2 separate regions of the Homo sapiens genome follow, and region 2 is linked to region 1. The links are contacts of gene promoters, found by promoter capture Hi-C in human tissues and cell types (Jung and others, 2019). All regions are on one chromosome and are shown on one strand. The core of a region is centred on a gene start or on the middle of the fragment in contact, and the rest is flanking DNA. Distances in the headings are between cores, read along the strand shown. Region 1 holds the start of ADRA2A (adrenoceptor alpha 2A). Region 2 has its middle 78 kb from the start of GPAM.

Region 1 (2,700 bases), core at 196-2,695:
TTAAGTCTAATCTCTCTCCTGCTGAAATTTCCTACCCTCTTGGGTTTTACCATTAAACTGCTTGCTCTCATCTGAAAAGTGCAGCTAGCAGGGTGCAAGCTAGTGCTCTAGTGACCGTTAAAATCTATCCTAGGACAGCTAGCACGCACGGAAAAACTTGCCATTCGCCGCACACCCACTCCCCCCCGCCCCCACCGCTATTCTTATCAGAGAGAACATGGAAAATATTCTACTCCCTCTTCCCCTTATTGAAGGATGCTGTGTGTACATCTGAATGGGGGTGGGATGCGGGGCGGGAGTGGAGTCTAGCTTTCGGTCCTCAACAAAAACATAATGATTCCCAGCAAGCCAGAGCTGTGCAACCAAGGAGGCAGGATCCTGGCCTCTCTCGGATCTGCAGGAAGGGTGGGCTGTGCGGGTCCAGAGTGGGATGCCCGTTCTGGCCGGCGGTGCCTGCTGAGCCCTTCCTGATGTGACTTTATTAGACAAACCCCCACTCCCGCCAGGGGTAGACACACGAGTATCTGCTTTAGGAAGATTTCTGCAACACGGCAGGGTGCAATTCAAACTCTGGGTTCTCCTTTCCTGAGCTTAGAAACCAATTTGTTCGGAGATAGGAGAAGGCTCTGTTGGCAGAAGACCTAAGAGACGGGAGGAGGCGCCTGGCGTCAGCGGGTCGCTTCTCAGCCGTGACCACGAGCGGCCAGCAGGTGTCAGTGCGTCCTCGCTTTGCCCTGGCGCTCGGCTCCTGGACCCCTCCCCACCTCGGTCTAAGGGGGCGCGGTCCAGACCCCGGGTCTTGCGTTTCCCGCAGACAGCATCGCGGCTGGGAGGACACGTAGCCGCTTCTTCCCTAAGCGGAGGTCTGAACTCCGGCTTGTACCACTTCCCCGTGGGTGCTGTCCATTCCGCCCCAGGGGTTCCATCCGAAGCCGCGCCTTCCTCCCTCTCCAGGACCCCTTTCTCCCCAGCCTCCAGGAGCACCTGCGGACCGCGTCGGCTCTGGCCCGGAGCTGGGCTGCTCCAGACGTAACTCACACCGGAGGTTACTTCCCTCGATTTGGGCGGGGATTCCCTTCCATTTTTTTCTTCCCTTTTCTCCCAAGATCCAGCTTCTTGGGGGCACTCACGGGTGCCCGTTGCGTTCTGCTCCGTCGGCCCGGAGCTGCATGGCCAACTCCCAGCAGGGGCCGCTCCTCCCCTACCCCCCACCCCCGGGCTCCCTCTTTAAGTCTCTAGCTCAAGGTACCCGCCTCTCCAAAGGGCTCGTCCCGCCTGAGGGCAACGCTCCCCGAGGTCCAGCGCTAGGCGCGGGCGCTAGACTGGCGGAGGGGTGGTGCGAGGGGCGGGGGAGGGTCGGCTTCCCACGTGGGGGCTGACGCCGGCTGCTCAGCAACGCTTGCTTGATCCTGGGGCTATAAAACGAGTCCACCGTGAGCGCAGCGGAGCAGCAGCAGCTCCAGCTCGGTGCAGAAGCCCAGCAGCCGGCGTGCCGCCGCCCGGCCACTCCAGCGCCTTCTTCCCCGCCTTGCGCTCCTGCCCCAACTCGCGCTGTCGTCGGACCCCGGCCCATCCAGCAGCGCTCGGCGCCCACCAGGCGGACGCCCAGGAGAACCCCTGCCTCCGTCGCGGCTCCTGGAGAGCTGATCGTTCACCTGCCCCGGCCCGCCTGAGGACGGGGGTGCCTTCATGCGGCCCCCACACTCCTCACCCCGCCGCCGCCGCCGTCCCGGAGCTCCGCACAGTGTGCCCCAGCCCCAGCAGGGCGCACAACTTTGGAAGTCTCGCGGCGCTCCGAGAGGCGGCAGAGTCCGCGCCCCAGCCCCGGGCCGGGCCGGGCCAGAACCGCAGCGTCTGGGGGAAGCCAGAGAGTCGGTAATCGCTTCGGGGATGTAAGGCGACAGACATAGGACCCCCGAGCTCGCATCAGCACCCTTCGGCTGCCTCCCGGGGTGGGGGCGGGCCCCGCACACGGTAAGACCTCTTGCTTTCGCTCAGGCTCAAGATTCAAGATACAGATATTGATATGTATATATATATTTAATTTCCTGTCATCCTTCCAAGTTATCAGGCCACCGATGATTTTTGTTCTCCCTTCTTGAAGAATAAATCTCTCTTTACCCATCGGCTCTCCCTACTCTCTCCCGCCGCTTAGAAATAAAACTTGGCTGTATTAGGAGCTCGGAGCAAGAAGGCGCCCACCGAGAGCGTCTGAAGCGCGAGCCAGGCGCAGTTCGCGGGACCCGGGCCATGGGCCGCTAGCGGTCCTCCAGTTCGGGCCCGGCCTCCCTGCGGCCCCCTCCCTATGTGAGCCGCAGCCAGGCGAGCGGGGCGCCGGAGGAAGAGGAGGACCCACGGGCGCCGGGCCGGAAGGCAGCTGGCAGCAGGCCCAGGCCAGCGGGCGCCCGCGTTCATGTTCCGCCAGGAGCAGCCGTTGGCCGAGGGCAGCTTTGCGCCCATGGGCTCCCTGCAGCCGGACGCGGGCAACGCGAGCTGGAACGGGACCGAGGCGCCGGGGGGCGGCGCCCGGGCCACCCCTTACTCCCTGCAGGTGACGCTGACGCTGGTGTGCCTGGCCGGCCTGCTCATGCTGCTCACCGTGTTCGGCAACGTGCTCGTCATCATCGCCGTGTTCACGAGCCGCGCGCTCAAGGCGCCCCAAAACCTCTTCCTGGTGTCTCTGGCCTCGGCCGACATCCT
Region 2 (2,700 bases), core at 146-2,645, 1.0 Mb after region 1:
GCAGTTCCTCACCAGCAACGGAACAAAGCTGGACGGAGAATGACTTTGACGAGCTGAGAGAAGAAGGCTTCAGACGATCAAATTACTCCGAGCTACGGGAGGACATTCAAACCAAAGGCAAAGAAGTTGAAAACTTTGAAAAAAATTTAGAAGAATGTATAACTAGAATAACCAATACAGAGAAGTGCCTAAAGGAGCTGATGGAGCTGAAAACCAAGGCTCGAGAACGTCGTGAAAAATGCAGAAGCCTCAGGAGCCGATGCGATCAACTGGAAGAAAGGGTATCAGCGATGGAAGACGAAATGAATGAAATGAAGCGAGAAGGGAAGTTTAGAGAAAAAAGAATAAAAAGAAACGAACGAAGCCTCCAAGAAATATAGGACTAAGTGAAAAGACCAAATCTACGTCTGATTGGTGTACCTGAAAGTGACGGGGAGAATGGAACCAAGTTGGAAAACACTCTGCAGGATACTATCCAGGAGAACTTCCCCAATCTAGCAAGGCAGGCCAACATTCAGATTCAGGAAATACAGAGAACGCCACAAAGATACTCCTCGAGAAGAGCAACTCCAAGACACATAATTGTCAGATTCACCAAAGTTGAAATGAAGGAAAAAATGTTAAGGGCAGCCAGAGAGAAAGGTCGGGTTACCCTCAAAGGGTAGCCCATCAGACTAACAGCAGATCTCTCGGCAGAAACTCTACAAGCCGGAAGAGACTGGGGGCCAATATTAAACATTCTTAAAGAAAAGCATTTTCAACCCAGAATTTCATATCCAGCCAAACTAAGCTTCATAAGTGAAGGAGAAATAAAATACTTTACAGACAAGCAAATGCTGAGAGATTTTGTCACCACCAGGCCTGCCCTAAAAGAGCTCCTGAAGGAAGCGCTAAACACGGAAAGGAACAACCGGTACCAGCCGCTGCAACATCATGCCAAAATGTAAAGACCATCGAGACTAGGAAGAAACTGCATCAACTAACAAGCAAAATAACCAGCTAACATCATAATGACAGGATCAAATTCACATATAACATATTAACTTTAAATGTAATGGACTAAATGCTCCAGTTAAAAGACACAGACTGGCAAATTGGATAGCGTCAAGACCCATCAGTGTGCTGTATTCAGGAAACCCGTCTCACGTGCAGACACACATATAGGCTCAAAATAAAAGGATGGAGGAAGATCTACCAAGCAAATGGAAAACAAAAAAAGGCAGGGGTTGCAATCCTAGTCTCTGATAAAACAGACTTTAAACCAACAAAGATCAAAAGAGACAAAGAAGGCCATTGCATAATGGTAAAGGGATCAATTCAACAAGAAGAGCTAACTATCCTAAATATATATGCACCCAATACAGGAGCACTCAGATTCATAAAGCAAGTCCTGAGTGACCTACAAAGAGACTTAGACTCCCACACATTAATAATGGGAGACTTTAACACCCCACTGTCAACATTAGACAGATCAACGAGACAGAAAGTCAACAAGGATACCCAGGAATTGAACTCAGCTCTGCACCAAGCGGACCTAATAGACATCTACAGAACTCTCCACCCCAAATCAACAGAACATACATTTTTTTCAGCACCACACCACACCTATTCCAAAATTGACCACATACTTGGAAGTAAAGCTCTCCTCAGCAAATGTAAAAGAACAGAGATTATAACAAACTGTCTCTCAGACCACAGTGCAATCAAACTAGAACTCAGGATTAAGAATCTCACTCAAAATCGCTCAACTACATGGAAACTGAACAACCTGCTCCTGAATGACTACTGGGTACATAACGAAATGAAGGCAGAAATAAAGATGTTCTTTGAAACCAATGAGAACAAAGACACAACATACCAGAATCTCTGGGACACATTCAAAGCAGTGTGTAGAGGGAAATTTATAGCACTAAATGCCCACAAGAGAAAGCAGGAAAGATCCAAAATTGACACCCTAACATCACAATTAAAAGAACTAGAAAAGGAAGAGCAAACACATTCAAAAGCTAGCAGAAGGCAAGAAATAACTAAAATCAGAGCAGAACTGAAGGAAATAGAGACACAAAAAACCCTTCAAAAAATTAATGAATCCAGGAGCTGGTTTTTTGAAAGGATCAACAAAATTGATAGACCGCTAGCAAGACTAATAAAGAAAAAAAGAGAGAAGAATCAAATAGACGCAATAAAAAATGATAAAGGGGATATCACCACCGATCCCACAGAAATACAAACTACCATCAGAGAATACTACAAACACCTCTACGCAAATAAACTAGAAAATCTAGAAGAAATGGATAAATTCCCCAACACATACACCTTCCCAAGACTAAACCAGGAAGAAGTTGAATCTCTGAATAGACCAACAACAGGCTCTGAAATTGTGGCAATAAACAATAGCTTACCAACCAAAAAGAGTCCAGGACCAGATGGATTCACAGCCGAATTCTACCAGAGGTACAAGGAGGAGCTGGTACCATTCCTTCTGAAACTATTCCAATCAATAGAAAAACAGGAAATCCTCCCCAACTCATTTTATGAGGCCAGCATCATCCTGATACCAAAGCCTGGCAGAGACACAACCAAAAAAGAGAATTTTAGACCAATATCCTTGATGAACATTGATGCAAAAATCCTCAATAAAATACTGGCAAACCAAATCCAGCAACACATCAAAAAGCTTATCCACCATGATCAAGTGGG

Evidence for each region. The method cuts DNA at HindIII sites, captures the fragments that hold promoters and counts their contacts. A contact is called where the count stands out against the background at its distance.
Region 2: a contact is called between a fragment that was not itself captured here and the fragment with the promoter of ADRA2A in region 1, in 1 of the 25 tissues and cell types used here (spleen).

What each region holds. Positions count from the first base shown.
Region 1 is chr10:111,075,584-111,078,283 of GRCh38, forward strand. It overlaps ADRA2A (adrenoceptor alpha 2A), which reads left to right and starts at 1,446. Exons shown (of 1, transcript NM_000681.4): 1 at 1,446-2,700. The coding sequence starts at 2,414. RefSeq lists a silencer at 1,409-1,458. The HindIII fragment of the contact is 8,357 bases long and covers 1-2,700 here.
Region 2 is chr10:112,104,902-112,107,601 of GRCh38, forward strand. No RefSeq gene overlaps it. Among named protein-coding and RNA genes, the nearest start is that of GPAM, 78 kb to the right of the region's middle. The HindIII fragment of the contact is 4,977 bases long and covers 1-2,700 here.